Regions from separate parts of the Homo sapiens genome. Here region 1 is linked to region 2. Evidence: promoter capture Hi-C in 16 types of primary human blood cells and fetal thymus (Javierre and others, 2016). All regions are on one chromosome and are shown on one strand. Each heading gives the region's core, a stretch centred on a gene start or on the middle of the fragment in contact. The rest is flanking DNA. Distances are from core to core; before and after follow the strand shown.

What was found. Contacts are between HindIII fragments. The CHiCAGO score rates a contact against its expected background, and 5 or more counts as called.
Region 1: a contact is called between a fragment that was not itself captured here and the fragment with the promoter of RYK in region 2, in 1 of 17 cell types (total CD4 T cells). The highest score is 6.7, in total CD4 T cells.

Annotation. Positions count from the first base shown.
Region 1 is chr3:138,166,163-138,170,645 of GRCh38, forward strand. It overlaps DBR1 (debranching RNA lariats 1), which reads right to left. Exons shown (of 8, transcript NM_016216.4): 4 at 3,945-4,030; 5 at 919-1,143. Among named protein-coding and RNA genes, the nearest start is that of DBR1, 6.5 kb to the right of the region's middle. The HindIII fragment of the contact is 4,308 bases long and covers 499-4,483 here.
Region 2 is chr3:134,249,122-134,253,478 of GRCh38, forward strand. RYK (receptor like tyrosine kinase) reads right to left here and starts at 1,738. Exons shown (of 15, transcript NM_002958.4): 1 at 1,302-1,738. The coding sequence starts at 1,533. RefSeq lists an enhancer at 979-1,757 and a silencer at 1,093-1,912. The HindIII fragment of the contact is 6,752 bases long and covers 1-3,229 here.

The DNA of each region.
Region 1 (4,483 bases), core at 1,403-3,902, 3.9 Mb after region 2:
CTGTAACTCTGTTAACCCAGCATTTTCTACACAGTTTTCCTATGGACTACTTTATGGGAAAGTCAGAGTTCAGCCAGAATCAGAGGTGAAAGGAAGAAATGCATACTTCCATAGAAGTTTCATTATAAGTATATATTTATTTTCTACCTTCCATCAAGTACATCATCCATGCAGTTAAGCAAAGAAAACTGGGGGTCATCCTGGACTTCTTTCCTCCCTCAGTCACCAAATCGCAATGATTCTCCTTCTAAAATCTCTCTAGAATCTGCTTCATTCTCTGTATTCTCTCTTTGCCTTAGGTTAAAACCTTTTCTTTTACATAAATAGCCTGCTCTGCCTCCCATTTTACATTACTCCAATCCATACACAACAATGCTGTCAAACTAATCGTTCTGAAATGAAAATCTGATTTCATCACTCCCCAAATTTCCCCATCATCTTTGGTTAAAATCATAACTCCAGAGCATGGCCCCTAGAAGGCAGTTATGATCTTGTTCAAGCTTCATCAGTCCCTATGCCTTAGTCCCACAGGAACTACCTACAAGTCCCCAAACACCCCATGCTCTCAGACCTCGAGCCTCTGCACATGCCAGTCCCTCTAAATAAAATACCCTTACAATGTGTTTCTTCCTGGCACTTCAAGACTCAGTTCAGCTATCACCTTTTGAAAACCTTCTCTATCTTCATCTCCCATGTTCCCATCCCACCACAGTCTGGCTTAGGTGCTCCCACTGCCTACGTTTTCTCTCAAACTTATTATACTGTTTTGTAATTGCTTGTCTTTCCCAGAATCATATATTGAGCTACTCACAAGAGGTAAGTTATCTTTTACTTCTTTCTCTAACTTTACAACTGTGTCTGGTCCATAGATGTTCAATAGTGTGTGTTAAATGAAAGAATAAACATTTTGTTTTCTACCTGATGCTGCATCAAGGCGGCAAACTTCACATGAAGGTGGGCAGAAAACCAATAAGTAGGTTTGAGATGCTCTAAAAGCTCTGAGGCAGCTGGACTTCCTAATGTGTTATTTTCCACTTCTTGTCGGAAAAAAGATTTAGTCTTAAGAAGTTGCTTCTTATTTCCATAATGATATATACTTCTTGGCCAATCATGAGACAAGAATATATCTATAGGCTGCTTCAGCTTTCAAAAGAGAAAAAGAGAAAGAAAGAAAACTCTTAAAACAGATTAACCAAAACAATCCCCTCCCTTCTCTCTACCACCATACAACCATTCACCCACTGAGATCTCTAGAATTCTGTATAATTCATTCTAAGGACACTTTAAGAGAGTGATAAAAATACTAGGCAACTCATTCATCTAGGCAAAGAGAAGCTGCATTTTCTCTGCTCATAAATCATTCTTATTTTCAGTGGCAAGGCAAGGCAATGGAGACAGACTCTGATTAGACTGCCAGTCATCTAAGATCTTTAGCACTTAGCTTCTAAAATACACGATAACCATAGTTCTTTTCCTCTTTGGTAAAGAAATTATTATTTTGGGCCGGGCGCGGTGGCTCACGCCTATAATCCCAGCACTTTGGGAGGCTGAGGCAGGTGGATCACCTGAGGTTAGGAGTTCGAAACGAGCCTCACCAACATGGTGAAACCCCATCTCTACTAAAAATACAAAAATTTAGCTGGACGTTGTGGCATCTGTCTGTAATCCCAGCTACTAGGGAGACTGAGGCAGGAGAATCGCTTGAACCCAGGAGGTGGAGGTTGCAATAAGCCGAGATCATGCAATTGCACTCCAGCCTGGGCCACAAGAGTGAAACTCCATCTCAAAAAGAAAAAAAAGAAAAAAGAAATTACTGTTTTGAAGATCCAGAGACACTAGATTTCACGAGACCTCTAACATGACTGATTCAGTAAACCCAAAGATTTACCAGGAAAAAAAAAATTCTAATAGGCTCACATAGTATACACTAAAAAACTGTGTTTACTACATAAATTAGTATTTCATTAAACAACTTAAGGAAACAAAATATACTCCAGACTTTACTTATCCCCAGAACCTTCAAGTAATCTGAAACGAATACTTGAAAAATGAAATTAAAACAACTTAAATACCGGCTGGGCACAGTGGCTCACGCCTGTAATCCCAGCACTTTAGGAGGCCGAGGTGGGTGGATCGCCTGAAGGTCAGGAGTTCGAGACCAGCCTGGCCAACATGGTGAAACCCCATCTTTATTTAAAATACAAAAAATTAGCCGGGCGTGGTGGTGGGCGCCTGTAATCCCAGCTACTCAGGAGGCTGAGGCAGGAGAATCGCTTGAACCCAGGAGGCAGAGGTTGCAGTGAGCCAAGATCGCACTGTTGCACTCCAGCTTGGGCAACAGAAGTGAAACTTTGTCTCAAAAAAAAAAAAAAAAACTTAAATAACTGCTCAAGACAATACAAAATATTAGATATTAGATAGATATGACTAACCACTGAATAACTGGTATGGCCAACAGATGCAACAAAAATTCAAACTAGGGTAATGACTCTAAACTAGAGAAGTCATGGCTGGCTGGGCATGGTGGCTCATGCCTGTAATCCCAGCACTTTCGGAGGCCAAGGCAGAAGGATCGCTTGAGTTCAAGAGTTTGAGACCAGCCTGGGCAACATGGCGAAACTCTGTCTCTAAAAAATATGAAAAAAATTAGCTGGGCGAGGTGATGCATGCCTATAGTCCAAGCTATTCGGGAGGCTGAAGTGGGAGGATCACCCAAGCCTGGCAGATTGAGGCTGCAGTGAGTCAAGCCATGATCATACTACTGCACTCCAGCCTGGGTGACAGAGTGAGACCTTGTCTCAAAAAAAAAAAAGAAGAAAACTCATGGTTGGGAAATGGCATCTAAGTTGGGTCTTAAAGGACTGGTAGGATTTAGATAGGTGAAAGAGAAAATCTATTTAAGGGAACTGTATGCACAGGGCATAAAAGAAACACTTGCAAGAATTGTTAGACTCCTGCAGAGGCTCTAGAGACAGTGTGATGGGCATGAGTGCAGTCAGGCAGGCTCTACCACTAAACTTTGGGAAGTCCTGGGCAGGTTACTTACCTGTCTGAGCCTTGGCTTCTCATCCTTAAAGGGATGAAGTTAAGAGTTACATCTATTTCATAGGGTTTGAGTGGAGATTATATGAAATACCAAGTGTGAAGTCTGTTTAGCCCAGTGTCAGCCATGTAATGGGTTCTCAAACAACCTAGTTTCACCTACTCTGCAATTAAGCAGTGTTTCCATACCACCTTCACAATTTTCCCATTTCCTCTATCATCTTTACTATTACTTATTTTCTATTTAATACCATTACTTAATTACTATTACATAAAATAAAATGTTTATTTCAATATTTTCTTTAAAATATCACTTTAACATTTTATTTTAAATATCACTTTAATAGGTATTCTTTAGCCTTAACCTAAGTAATATTTGAAATCATGAATTAAATCTTTCATTCTTACTAAAATAAACTCGTAATTATTGAAGTAAAAAAAATTTTGCCGGGCACAGTGGCTCACACCTATAATCCCAGCACTTTGGGAGGCCAAGGCAGGCGGATCACCTGAGGTCAGGAATTTGAGACCAGCCTGGCAAACATGGTGAAACCCCATCCCTACTACAAATACAAAAAATTAGGCAGGTGTGGTGGTGTGCGCCCATAGTTCCAGCTACTCAGAAGGTTGAGGCACAAGACTTGCTTGAACCCAGGAGGCGGAGGTTGCAGTGAGCCGAGATCGCGCCACTGCACTTCAGCCTGGGTGACATAGTGAGACTCTGTCTCAAAAAAAGAAAAAAAAAAGGTTCATCTGTGAACCTCCTAAAAACTCAAGATCCACATTTTAAAAATACAGAATTGCTCTTCTTGAAAGTAGTATACCAATATGACCAAAATACATTTTGGCACAGAATTACTTTAAAATGTTTTCAAGTCTGCTGTAATGCGCTTTTTACGTACCTGTTTTAATTTATAGACTTCAATATTTCTCACATGATATATACTCCTGATTGTAGATGAATTATAAGGGGGGCACTCAAAATGACCTTAGATTGAAGCAGAAAAATAAGCTATATTTAATTTCCTTAAATACTGCAAATACAAAGACATATACACAGGTCTCCAAAATATCATGTACACCTTCAATATATACGATTTTAAAAAGTTATCTAGGGAAATTTTTTAAAAAGATGGTGGACTGCAGTCTCCTTCCTTTGCAGGCTCAAATAAGGGTGTATCTGCTTTCTAAGGTCCCACACATGGTTGCTGGCACACTTCAGTTACTTTCTAACTGTTGACTAGAGACTAGTTCCTTATGCTCCCAATATTAATAAAATAACAAATTATTGTTGTTTTAAGCCGAAAAAGAAATATGTGTATTATATGCATAAATGATATCCCTGAGATAAAATAGAAAAACCTGATAAACAGCTTCCCAAAAGTGGTTCCAATTTGTACCCACACCTGCCACAGAGAAGACAGCCTATTTTGTACCTCCA
Region 2 (4,357 bases), core at 488-2,987:
TATTATTTTTCCTAAATCTTAGTCTTGTGTTCCAAGTACTACCCCAAGTAGAGTTTTAATTCAGCTAAACTACATTCAGCTAACTCAGCTAGACTAAGAAGGATTAAGAATGAGCACGACTTCATAAAAAGAGCATTCTTCTTTGGCTAAAAACTGCAAATCCGTACATGTAATGTCTAAAGAGTCTGCTTTCAGTAATTCCATTTCTACACTGAGTCAATCTCAACACACCTCAACAAAGTCTTATTACTTAAAAAAAAATAGAATACTGACAAATAATGGATGCAATAGAGAATAATTTTTCCCCTCAAACACTCAGAAGCACCACCTTCAGATGAAATAAAGATACTGCCATAATAACAAAAGAATGCAAACGTCTAGGTACCAAGGACTTCCTTTTTGGGGGGTCGTTCCTGTCAGATCTTCCTCTAAGGGGTCATTTCCAGAATCCACAAAGTCCTAACATAAGACCCCAGCAATTTTTCAAATTAATTCCCCAAACAACAAAGCTAAGCAAGTAAATGGAACCACAAACCGACCCAAGACTAAGTTCTTGTTTCCCTTCAAGATACTCAAAAGTAGGAGAGTGGCCCAGAAGTACAGAGTCAGTCCAAACTCCCAACACACCCAATGCAAAAACCAAAAAGGTATTGAAACTAAAAAGGTCTGCTACCTGGCGATTCATTCACTAAAAATATGCTTAGAATCTAAGCATATGCTCCAAATCTACGTCCCAAGAGTTGGAGGCTGCCACGAACATTTGGTGCCCTTATAACCTCCCCTTCTTTCTCTCTCGTTTTTTTTTTTTTTTTTTTTTTTTTTGTAAAAGGGTAAGCACAGAGCGTGGCCTCTACTGGAGCATCAAAACCACAGCAAAGGGTTTGCAAGTTCAGTCTAAAACGTGAATTTCGAGATATTCAAAATCGAGGGCCCTAGAGTGACACACATAGAAAGCGTCAAAAAAACTTCGTGCAGCAAGGAAAAAAAGTTGTAAGGGTGACTGACTCTTCTAGGGAGAAGGGCTAAGGAGGCAGTGAGGAGGATGGGATGGGGTGAATCTGGGTCTATCGCGGCGGGGCAGCGAGGGCGGCACGAAGGCTGACCCAGAGCTGGGGACCGGGCAGGGACCACACCTCCCAGCCAGCACGGCAGGCAGAGACCGGGCCGCGAGGCGAATCCGGGCGCGGGGGGCGGGGAGGGTACTCGCCCGAGGTCCACGGCTCGCAGACTGATCCGCCGGCGGCCGGAAGCTGCCCCAGCCGGCCCGACCTGCCCGCCCCGGCCTCGGCGGCCCCACTCACCGATCAGCCGGCGCACCTCGTCCTCGCTCAGGTAGAGACTCACGCTGGGCCCCGCGGAAGCCGACTGCAGCTCCGGGGGCCGCGGGGCGGGGGCGGCGGCAGCGCCAGGCGCGGGCAGCAGCGGCAACAGCGCAAGCAGAAGCAGCAGCGGCGGCGGCGGCGGGGCCCTCAGGCCGCGGGCCCCCGGGAGGCAACTCCGGCCCGGCCGCCCCAGCCGCGCCGCCCCACGCATGGCCGCCGCCGCCGCCGCCGAAGAGGAGCGTCGGCCGCCCGCCGCACCGCCGCCCACCCCCGGCCCCGAGCCGCTCACAGCCCCGAGCCGGGGGCGGCTGCCCAGCTCATCGCACCGCCGGCCCGTGGCAGCCAGCAGTGGCTTCAGACCTCCGGAGCGCGCCGCCGCCGCCGCCTCCTCGCTGCATCGTCCGGAGTTGGGGGCTGCCCGCGGGACGCGCCCGTGCGCGCCGCCGCCTCCCCGGGAGCGCGCACGCACCTTTCGCTCTGGGCGGGCCGGCCTGGGCAACGCGCTGGGGTTTTAAAGTGCCTCGGCGGGCGAAGGGCTCGGGTCACCCTCTCCGCAAGAGCCGGTCCCCGCCCCACGCGGTCACTGCGTCTAATGTTTGCTTGTCTATTGTCTGTAACCCTCCTTTCCCGACGGACGGGCCAGGCTGGAGCCACCGGCCGCGCCTGCAGCTCAGTGGGCGCCCCAGGTCCCCGGAAACGCCTGGATGCGGCCGTTCTGGTTGCGAAAAAGCAGCATGCTTTCCTGTTTAGTGGGAAAACTCAAATAAATAGAAATCATCCTTTATCTTACCATCGGTGATCAACTTTATCGTTTCCGTATCTATTATTAGAATTTATACTACATATATTTGTTTTCCAGAAAGATCTTAGCACGCTTTACTAACCCTATTTTTACGTTACAAAATTTTATTTATTTTTATATTTTTATTTATTTATTTTGAGACGAAGTCTTGCTCCGTCACCCAAGCTGGAGTGCACTGGCACGATCTCGGCTCACTGCAACCTCTGCCTCCTAGGTTCAAGCCATTCTCCTGCCTCAGCCTCCCGAGTAGCTGGGATTACAGGCGCCCGCAACCATGCCCGACTAATTTTTTTGTATTTTTAGTAGAGACGGGGTTTCACCATGTTGGCCGGGTTGGTCTCGAACTCCTGACCTCACGTGATCAACTGACCTCGGCCTCCCAAAGTGCTGGGATTACAGGTGTAAGCCACCGCGCCCTGCCAAATTGTTATTTTTTTTATAATCGTTCTGCATCACTATAATCAACCTGCCTTTGGGGTTGTTAATCTGTGGTCCATACCAGGCTTCGACAGCCTTCCAATAATATGAAACTGTGTGCAAAAGTGTATGTGTCTCCGTGCGTATTTGTGTCCACGTCCATGTTTCTGTGTGTTGTGTGTATGCTTGATTGCACACAGAGAGGTGGTATGTCATCATTTGTTCTAGGGAGTCCTTGTGCCCTCAAAGAGGTTAAGAACTGCAGATAGACCTCGTGTACTTAAAGGCGGTGGAGCCAGCCAGTGCATGGACTTCCGGGCCTCCTGATGTATTTTTGTGAGCCGCCCACCATCGCGGTCAAACTTGCACCAGTGCCCCCTCTCTTGGTGAGGCTCCAAGGGCCCCTGCCCTGTCCTGGGACACCTCGTCCCTGCGGACAGGCCCCCGTCCTGACCCCAAGGCTCTCGCGGGGCCGTGCCTCGGGGAGCAGCTGCTCTGACAGCTAGGCCTGGCTTCGGGGCACAGTTGCTCCATCGCAGTGAGGCCCTGGGAAGCGGTTATTTTTATCCTCAGGGAAGGGTAGGGAAAAGGAGAGGCTGATAAGGAGGGAAGTGCTGGAACTTGATTTTCTCCCTCCCTAGCAAGATACACGGATTCCATTTAGAGATAGGCTGGCCTCAATTTGTCAAGCTTCAGCGCCTCAGCACAAAATCTTACACCCTTCATCCTGCCGGAGGAGGCTGAGAAGAGGAAGAGGGGAGGAAAAGTGCTCCATCAGAGAAGGCTTTTAAGCCACAAAAGTCAGCAAAAATACTTCTGTTGGGACAGCCACTGCTACCAGGGTTCTGCCAGGAAGGGCTGGAGGCTCAAAACATGTTGTGTGAACAGGAATCTCAATTCAGATGGGAAGCATTTTTTTAAAGGATGGCATATTCTTTGCACTTTTAAAAAAGCTCACAGTCCTCAAAGAATGAAACTCCTAGCTTCTCGAGGTTCTTTAATTACTAGGTCTTGTCAGTGACTTCTTCAGGCGGCCTATGATGTAAACAGCAGAGAGCTCCCACTCAGGCCTGGCTGGGTTCTGGTACTTGTTAATCCTGTGGTCTTGGGAAAATTAAACTCTCCAAGCCTTGGTTCTCTCATTCATAAAAATCCCGGGATAATGCCCGACTCCCAGGGCTTTTACAGGATTTAATTGGAGAGGGATACAAGTAAAACATCTAGGCAGACGCTGGGTAGGTGTCACACCTGTTGTTATTGTAATTACAAGGAATCCTTTCCCTTTAATGACCACTTCCTGTGAAAGTTTCATCACCAGTTACCTCCAAACAGTTCAAACCTGGGACCCTCATGAACCTCATTCAATAGCACTGAGCCTGGCCCAGAGCCTGAGCTCGATGAAGACTCGTGCCAGGCATCACGCTAGGCACTGGGGACACAGGAGCGAGCAATGTGCTTCCTTGAGAACTTTGATAAACAAATGTTTTCATAAATTCTACAAAGACAAGTTCTCAAAGTGTGGCCCCCAGACCAGCAGTATCATCACCTGGGAACTTGTAATGTAAATTCCTTGGACACTGCCCATACTAACAGGTAGCAGCTCCAGGGCTGGGGCCCAACAATCTGTTTTCCCAAGCCTCCTGGTAATTCTGATGCTGCTGGTCACTCCATTAATATCTCAGCTCTCCTGTCTCTCTTTTGGTCAGCTGCAGTTGCCTGCTTTCTCCCTTACTCGCTCAGTCTGTTCCCAACACAGCAGACAGAGGCATTCTGTTAAACGTCAGCCTGATCATGTACTCTCTGGCTTTCAGACCAC